Linked DNA regions of Homo sapiens: region 1 is linked to region 2. Evidence: promoter capture Hi-C in 16 types of primary human blood cells and fetal thymus (Javierre and others, 2016). All regions are on one chromosome and are shown on one strand. Each heading gives the region's core, a stretch centred on a gene start or on the middle of the fragment in contact. The rest is flanking DNA. Distances are from core to core; before and after follow the strand shown. Region 1 holds the start of LAMA4 (laminin subunit alpha 4). Region 2 holds the start of RFPL4B (ret finger protein like 4B).

The links. The method cuts DNA at HindIII sites, captures the fragments that hold promoters and counts their contacts. A CHiCAGO score of 5 or more calls a contact.
Region 1: a contact is called between the fragment with the promoter of LAMA4 here and the fragment with the promoter of RFPL4B in region 2, in 1 of 17 cell types (monocytes). The highest score is 6.8, in monocytes.

What each region holds. Positions count from the first base shown.
Region 1 is chr6:112,252,169-112,256,803 of GRCh38, reverse strand. LAMA4 (laminin subunit alpha 4) reads left to right here and starts at 2,237. Exons shown (of 39, transcript NM_001105206.3): 1 at 2,237-2,345; 2 at 2,513-2,848. The coding sequence starts at 2,654. All of the region lies in intron 2 of LAMA4-AS1 (LAMA4 antisense RNA 1), which reads right to left. The HindIII fragment of the contact is 4,256 bases long and covers 1,363-4,635 here.
Region 2 is chr6:112,345,613-112,350,217 of GRCh38, reverse strand. It overlaps RFPL4B (ret finger protein like 4B), which reads right to left and starts at 2,888. Exons shown (of 3, transcript NM_001013734.3): 1 at 2,811-2,888; 2 at 897-1,025; 3 at 1-614. The coding sequence starts at 509. The HindIII fragment of the contact is 3,879 bases long and covers 1,395-4,605 here.

The DNA.
Region 1 (4,635 bases), core at 988-3,487, 93 kb after region 2:
CCAGATTAAATTAAAAAGTGTGTGATTAATTGGCAGCTAGTAAAGAACAAGATGAAATCCTTCAGAAAACAAATATATGAGTTTTGGTGAGCTGAAGAGATCTGTATCTGAAGTCAGAATATTTAATATACATCATATATAATTAATATTATTATTATTTAATGTTCTTTTAAAGGGTGACTGGGTCAGTATAACTGAGCATAATCTGTTTTGTCTCAGAGTCTGGCTATCTTTTTTCCCAATATCAGTCTCTCAACTAAACCAAACATGTTTTTAACTTCTCCCACTTAATTTAGTAGGTTAACAAGTCTATGTAAAAGAAGAGTATCATAATTTAGCTTAATAGTCCCTTGCAATACTATTTTAATATTTTAAAATCAAAATATCACTTTAAAACCTATAGGAATTATTTTTGCTTCCTTTGGCTTTGGTTCTTTTGTATCATACAATTTTATCATTTAAAATCAAAGATCTTACCATCAGATTTACCTGGGCTATAGTAGTAATTTTACCACTTACCCATGGCCAAATGTGTATGACAATCCCTACTTCATGAGATTATCATAAAGATGAAATTAAATGAGACAATTTTTTTTTTTTTTTTTTTTTTTTTTTTTGAGCTGGAGTCTTTCTCTGTCACCCAGGCTGGAGTCAGTGGTAAAATCTCTGCTCACTGCAACCTCCACCTCCCGGGTTCAAGCAATTCTCCTGCCTCAGCCTCCCGAGTAGCTGGGACTACAGGCGCCTCCCACCATGCCTGGCTAAATTTTGTATTTTTAGTAGAGACGGGGTTTCACCATGTTGGCCAGGCTGGTATCGAACTCCTGACCTCATGATCCACCCACCTTGGCCTCCCAAAGTGCTGGGATTACAGGCATGAGCCACCACGCCCAGCCCTAAATGAGACAATTTATGTGATTTTTTTGCACATGGGAGGCACTCAAAAAATAAAAGTGTCCATTTCCTTCACCTCTGAATTCATACTCTTTATTTTAAAGTTGCAGTGTCGTGTATACAGATGTAAAAGAGAGCTTTGGAATCAGTGAGGCCTGGATCCAAACCCCATCTCTGCTTTCCACCAGCTGTGCGACCTTGGGCAAATGTCCTAGTCTCTCTGAACCTCACTTTCTTCTTCTGTAAAAGGAAAATAATGGTACTACTTTGCAGGAATGCTGAGGTTTACAAATAGCATATGCCAAGTATCTGGCACATGTTAGGTGCAAAATAAATGGTTTTGCTTACACTTAGATAAAATGACTTTTGTTCTATGAAATGGAGCTAATGATTAGGTTTTATGGAAAGGCTTTATTTATTTATTTTATGATTAGGTTATACAAAAATGCTTTATTTCACCTGGAAGCTTACCTGGGTGTCATTTTATGGTTGTCTCATCTGACCATTTTTAAACCATGGTTGGATCTTGTGGAAATGTTTAGAGCTCGTTATGAAGCCAATGTAAACAAAGGTACCTATCAGCTGTTGCAGACACTATCCCATCCACAGGGGCACCCCTGACATAGCTGTAGCCCAACTTCACCCTGAAGTCTTGGAAAGGTTACATGATTCAGACAGATGTAGTAGGCATGAGATTACAGGCCAAGAGGAAGAGGCCGGGGCTGTAGGCAGTATACTTGACAGGCTCATACACTGCAAGCCTTGTTCCGGGCCCCTTACAAAGCACCTCTTTAGGATGAAAACAAGATGGTCTTTGTAAATAAAAGTTCATGCATTTGGGTAATGAAGTCATTTTCCAGCGCTGCAGTGAAAGATATTCTTCTCCCAAGCCCTCTGGGTGAGGACTGGAGGGAGGAAGAGGGGTGGCCAGTGAATCTGAAGAGAAGATATTAGCACAAAGAGTGCAACAGTCTATCCCCCAGAAAAAACCCGAGAAACCTTGCTCAAGAAAGTGGGCACCCTGACCCTCTGCCTTCAGAGATCATCTACCTTTGGTTCCTGCCCTGGAATCCCTTTTCCACCCACTTTCCTGCAAACTAGCGGGGGCCACATAAAATATCTATGTAAATATAGATAAGACATCCGGTACCTTGACTACATAAATAAGAGTGGTGAGGAAGCGTCACAAAAGCTGAATATTCTTCTGGAGCCCTTGGAGGGGCTCCAAACTGAGAGGGGAGGGAAGACCGCAGGGAAAGGCGGACCTCAGTGTCTGAAAAGCCAGCTTAGAGTGGGAGGGCCTGGGAGTAGAAGGTAAAAAGGGAGTGGTGAGAATGAATGTGAGAAGGAAGCCAGGACAGCGCAGTCCCCAGTCCCGAACGGCCAGGGAGAGGAGGTGGCCTAGCGCTGGCGGGGCTCACCCCAATCCGTCTGCCTTTTGATGCCGTACTGTAAGCTCCGTCCATCTGTAGGTTCTTGAGCCAGAACCTCTGCGGGAAGGAGAAAAAGTGAAAGAGGGAGAGGGAGAGGGAGAGAGAGGGGGAGAAGGGGAGAGAGAGAGAGGGAGAGAGAGGCTGGAACTCTCCCTTACTCTCGCACTTTCCCTTTATTTCCTAAGCTGCTGGTTGCGCAGCCACCTCGGGATACTGCACACGGAGAGGAGGGAAAATAAGCGAGGCACCGCCGCACCACGCGGGAGACCTACGGAGACCCACAGCGCCCGAGCCCTGGAAGAGCACTACTGGATGTCAGCGGAGAAATGGCTTTGAGCTCAGCCTGGCGCTCGGTTCTGCCTCTGTGGCTCCTCTGGAGCGCTGCCTGCTCCCGCGCCGCGTCCGGGGACGACAACGCTTTTCCTTTTGACATTGAAGGGAGCTCAGCGGTTGGCAGGCAAGACCCGCCTGAGACGAGCGAACCCCGCGTGGCTCTGGGACGCCTGCCGCCTGCGGCCGAGGTACAGTGTCCCTGCCATTGCCACCCTGCTGGGGCACCTGCGCCCCCGCGGGCTGTGCCACACTCGTCCTTCTCTCTCTCTCCGCCTCTTTCCTCTCCCCAGTGCCTTGAGAGTTTCACCTGGGCTAGGTCAGTTCGGAAACTTGAAATAAAGAGTTTTCCTTTGTAAGTTGCATTTGGATGTTGAGAGTTGAAAGTTGAGGCTTCGGAATGTGTCTGCTCAAAGGGGTGAGAGTGCATGTGTTGGTGCTCTGAGTTCATCCGCTAGACTCTCACCGGGGACTGCAGCAGCACATCGGTGACTTCTGCCACTTGCGTGTCCCAGTAGTCATTTTGTCAAGCCACGGCACTTAACGTGTGTGCCCTGTCACTGGCTTCCTGCTCCTCTGTGCTGTTAGGACAGTGGGAACACTACTGCAGGATCTTTTTGTCTCATATTAGACAAGAAGTCTTCTGCAGCAGGGAAGGTGAGGGGGTGAGTGAGAGTGGCTGGTCATGAAAGGAGCTGTTAGACAACTGCTGAGAGGGTATCTTAAGTAGAAACGAGCCATTGTATTCCAGAAACAAGATGTTTCCATTAAAATCAAGCCTCAGGATATGCTATTGATAATATGTTTATTCAAAGAGCTGCTGTTTGAATACCTTACAATAGCTTTTAAGTTGGAAACAAAACCAGAATGTAGAGGTCTGGTAAAGGAGAATGAATCCAGAACAAGTGATTTAAGAACCCCTGAACTGAAACAGACAACAGCATGCCCATTGCATGGGACATGCTAAGAGGGAGGAAAATAAAGTCACCTAAGTTCATGGGAAAGGAAGGAGCAATTGACCTAGCAAAACAAACACCACACTCTATAGCTATGGTTACAGCAACTGTACAACTAAAACAGTTATGTGGATTGACACCATTTCTAACATCACTGATGCATGGATTATTGCTATGAATTCTGTTAATTGTTAGTACAATTATAGTTATTAATTATTGATGATTAAAAATAAGGTGCATGAACATGGTCCTTCTTCAGAGTAAGCCCTACCCACATTGCCCCAAAAAAGAGAGTGGACAGGGTCAGAATATGCCAACCTCTCACTGTGGTATAAAATGTAGCCTCCATGAAAAAGAGGGAGCATGGCTTCTGGTCAACTTCATACCCAGAAACTTGGGGAGAAGCCAGACCAGGAGGGACTTCATGCAATGGGAAGGCTTTGCTTCTCTACAGGCTTGGAATTAACCCCAGGGAAGCATTATCTCCACCTGTTGCTTTGAGCACGTAAAGTCCCTGAATGAAATGCTTAATTTTACTTAAGAGTAAAATTGGCAGATAAATTGCAGGACACTCAAATGTGAATTTCAGATAAATAATGAATGAATTTTGATCACATCCCAAATACTGCAGAGGACATATTTATATTAAAATTTGTTTTCATTGTTCATCTGAAATTCAAATTTATCCGGGCATCCTGTATTTGTATCTGTTAGGTCTAAAGAGACAAGCCATATACAACTGTTTTTTGTAACTCTCATCCCACAAAAAAAATAGGAAAGTAATTTTTTGAGTTTTAGAGAACCTTAAAATTAATGCTAAGACCCTAGGAAATTTCTTATGTGCTCATATGTTTGGTGAAATAATAGGAAGGCAGCACAGCAAAGTGTTTCAGATTGCAGGTTTTCAGTCTGATGGTCCCAAGTTGAAATTTCAAGCTCTTTGACCTTGGTCAAGTTACAGATCCCCAGACTGCAGATAAACTGATACTGACAGAATTTATTGATGCCTGCTTCATACCTCA
Region 2 (4,605 bases), core at 1,639-4,138:
TTTCTGTCAGCCGGCTCCTTGCAGACGCCCAGGGACCATGACTTCACCTCTCCCACTTCAACCTCCCAGTAATGTTGGCCGGAGGAGAAGCAGGGAGTACCCAGGACACAGGCCAGCCTGGGATCTTTTGTCAGATCGTGGTGGATCTTCTTACACTGAGCGCTTCTTAGATCATTGGAGAAGACAAGGAGGGAGCTGGCAGTGGCTGCATCCAGGGTCACATCCTCCCGAAAATGCCGGAGCTCCTCCCTCACGTGCAGACTTTGCTCAAGTCGGCTATTGTGCTGCTTGGTCATAAGTGTTAGGACGCTCACTTGCCATTCTTCCAAAGCAGGTACCTTCACCACGTCTCGACACAAGGGGCACATCGCTCTAAAATCATGGTTTTCTAGTATATACCTCTGGATGCAATCAAAGCAGAACACGTGTGTACAAGAGAGAGAAATGGAACAGGAGAAAAAATCCAGGCAAACTGGACAGGACAACTCTGCTTGCAGGCGTTTGGCCATGGTTCTTAAGGGTTACTCCTTAGCCGTGAAGTAAACTGAAGTGATCCTTTATTGGCTTCTGGAAGCACTTGGGAGCCCTCAGTACACAATCCACTCTTCAATAGTCTAAATCCAAGATTAAATAATATAAATTAATAAATAAGTTATTGGCATACATAAATGAATTATATTATTTAATAAATAATAATAAATTTATTAACTAAGAAATTAAGAATAACAAAAAAATAATATTTCTGCAGTTTGTGTATGAAAGTGACACTAAATTGCTAGAGAATCACAGTAATGTAGTCATGGTGATAAAAATGATTTCGAAACTCTTCAAACTCTAGATAATCACAAGACAGAAATAGGACAGTGGAAACTTTCTTTTCAGACAGTGCAGCTTACCTAGTCTGAAGACTTCCAGGTGATGTGTTGGCTGCTCCGGCCAAAGTTTCTCCTAATGGGGGCTGAATTCAAGTGGGTCTTTAACAGAATCTCAGTATAGTCTCCACTCAGTATTTCTTTGTAGATCCTCTGCAGTTCAGGAAAAAGAATGTTCATGTCTAAATTCAATAATGAAAATAAAGCCAATTCTACATTAATCATCACAGAAAAGTGACTCTAAGGAATCCTCAGAATTTCCAGGAAAATTACCACATGTGAGTAAAGCCAGCAAAATCCACTGCAAAATGAGAAGCCCATAAAAGAATCAAGTTTAAGGACAAAGTGTTATTAGATGAAATGCTTTAAAGCACTCTAAGAAAACTAATTAAGGCTTGAATTAATGTGAATAAAAATATAATAGTCATCAACTTCTCCAAAATAATCATGCCTGAATACAAACCAAAAAGATGTTCCAGACAAGGAAGATGCCCTCCTGTTACCCCAACTGCTCCCAAAGCTTGAGAGCCTCTGGTGCTCCCAGAGGACTTCCCACCATGGCTATTATTCTTTGAGTGAGCTGTCTCTGACATGCTGGGCACAGCATATTGGACCAGGCTAGACCCATGACCCAAAGACAGCCTCGCAAAGCTGGACAGCACCTTTGAGATTATGTGAACAGAGGACTGTTCTCCAATAAGAGCCTGCACTGAGCAGTAACTAGCAGAACTCCTTACCAAGAACCCACAAATCACACATTCAGTGGTGACAGTAGTAACAGAATGAGGGACAGAAAGAGGAGCAGCATCAACATTACCAGAGAGAGGAAGTGATGAACACCGATGAGGCCAGCCTAAGACTGAGTTACTAGAACTGTCCTACATCCCAGAACACATTCTCTAATCTCTTTCCAACAAATACTTATTGAGCCCCTTCTGTGCTCTTGGCCTCAACTGGACTCTGGAAACACAAACGTGTGTAATAAACAGGGTATCTGCCCACATAAAACTTTGTCTTCCAAGTCCTGATCAGCATTCCAATCTCATGGTGCCTGGCTGGCGGACAACCAGAGATTACCTCTTTCTTAAATTCTGTTATCTTTTTCAATTTAATGGGAAATTTAACATGGTGCTGGAAATCTAATTGCCTAACCCACCTTGGAATGTATCTAAGAAAACAATTTTACAAAAGAAAAAAAATGCTACACTTATTCACAAGTTGTTCATTTCAGTGTTAACTACCATCCCAAATGATCAGGAACAATCGAATTATCTAACAATAATAAAATGATTCAGCTAATTATGACACAACTACTAAAAGTGGCCAAGTATATTTAAGTGAAAACCCGAAGTGAAGTCTTTTTTTTTTTTTGAGACGGAGTCTTGCTCTGTCGCCCAGGCTGGGGGTGCAGTGGCTCCATCTCGGCTCACTGCAACCTCTGCCTCCCGGGTTCAAGCAATTCTCCTGCCTCGGTCTCCTGAGTAGCTGGGATTACAAGCATGTGCCACCACGTCCGGCTAAGTTTTGTATTTTTAGTAGAGACGGGGTTTCACCATGTTGGACAGGCTGGTCTCTTGACCTCGTGATCCACCCACCTCAGCCTCCCAAAGCGCAGGCGCGAACCATGGCGCCCGGCCGAAAACCCAGAAATCTTTTAAGAAATGTTGGAAAATAAAAAGAAACCATTTTAAAACCATTTAAATCCATTGTAGTTGAAAACACATAAAAATACAAGTTCATGCAAAGAGTGACCTGAGGTTCATATGTAAAAATTTAAATGGCAAAGTTATAGTTAAAGGTGAAGAAAGCTCCCTGGCACAGGAAAAAACTAGTTCTTTCTCCTCTAAAATAAATAGTTAAAGGCATTCGAAAACACCAGTTTGTAGCCAAAGACAGAATAGGACATTGGAAATAGCTTAAACAGAAGGTATAACTTACCTTGACTTGGAGACTTCCAGCAGAATTCTAAAAGATCCGAAGCCTACGTCTCTACCTCTACAGACCTCTGCTCCTCTCGGAGTTTCCGCGGAGAGACACCAGCGTTTTTATACTGCCTGGAAAACATTGTCCAACCAATCAGAGTCAGAGGCTCCGCCCCAAAGGTTGTACCACTCTAATCTGAGTAAACTCATCAACCCACCCTTCCGTTTATGATGATGACATTAAAGCAGGCTTCAAATTATATAGTAAAAAAATTCAAAATTTCTTAATAACTCCCTGAATTAGAGTGAATCTACTGCCATCTGCTCTTGTCTCTAATTTCAGAACTCAACTTTAAAAAGCAAAATGTGTTGGAGATCAAATACAGAAATGCACTGCTGAAACCTAATCACCTCGTGGCTAATGTAATCATTGGTGTTCCTATTCCTGATAGAATCATGAGCGGACAGGATCTACAACAGTTTTCATGTCCTTTGACTCAACAATTCTACTCTTAGGGGTACTTACTGGACAGGATAAGAAAGATGGCAGCTAGGCAAGGCTATTGTCCTGTAATTATTAATAATTCCATTTTTTACTCTCAAAAGTGTTCTTGGATGAACGGTAAATTTTATGGTGTCTGTATCGAGAGCAGAAGGAGCAGTAAAAGTCACAACAGAGGAAAGCTAAGACACAAACTTCCAAAAAAGGATTTGGAGGGTGAATGAAGTCCCATTGTAGAGAGGATCGCTGGAATATACGTTTTCCCCAAGAGAGGCTGCATTCTAAATAACCTCTCCTTTCTCAGGCTTCCTGTTCTGCAAGGCCCAACACACAGCTTACACAGCTTTTACTTCATTTTTACCTGGTGCTATCTCCTTTTCTGTGAGTTAAATACTTGCAGGAGCAGGTCTCAAGCGTTGCTGGGGTTTTTTTTTGTTTTGATTTTTGACACAATCTTGCTCTGTCTCCCAGGTTGGAGTGCAGTGGCTCAGTCTCGGCTCATTGCAACCTCCACCTCCCAGGTTCAAGTGATTCTTGTGCCTCAGCCTCCCTAGTAGCTGGGATTACAGGAGGCCAAGGTGGGCAGATCACATAAGTTTAGGAGCTCAAACTTTTTAAATTGTAATCTCAAGACCCTTTAAACTTGAGATTTTAATCTCAAGAATCCTTACACTCTCTTTTTTAATTATTCAAAAATGTCATTTTATTTTTTCTTTCATTTTATTTTGAAATAATTTTAGACACAGAAAATTTGTAGGAATAGTAAAAAGAGATATATTCTTTACCCAGATTTACTATTTGTTTTTTAATTGTCTGATGTATGTATACACTGTGAACTGATTAAATCAAGCCAATTAACATATCTGTCACTTCACATACTTATCATTTTGTCATGAAAATGTTCAAAATCTACTATCTTAGCAATTTTTAGGTGTGCTATACATTATCATTAGTTATATCCACCATGATGTACAATGGATCTCCAAAGAGTATTCCTTCTATCTACCTGAAAATTTTGTACCTTTTAACCAATATCTCCCCATTTCAGTCTTCTTTTCATCCCAGTGCCTGGTAGCCACCATTCTACTCCATGCTTCCATGAGTTCATTTTTTTTTACTTTTTTCCATTCCACGTATAGGTGAAATCATGCAGCATTTGCCTTTCGGTACCAGCTTATTTCACTCAACATAATGTCCTCCAGGTTCCATGTTGTTGAAAATGATAGAATTTCTTAAGACTCGATAGTATTCCATCATGTACATGTACCATGTTTTCTTTATGTATTCATCTATTGAGGAATATCCTGAT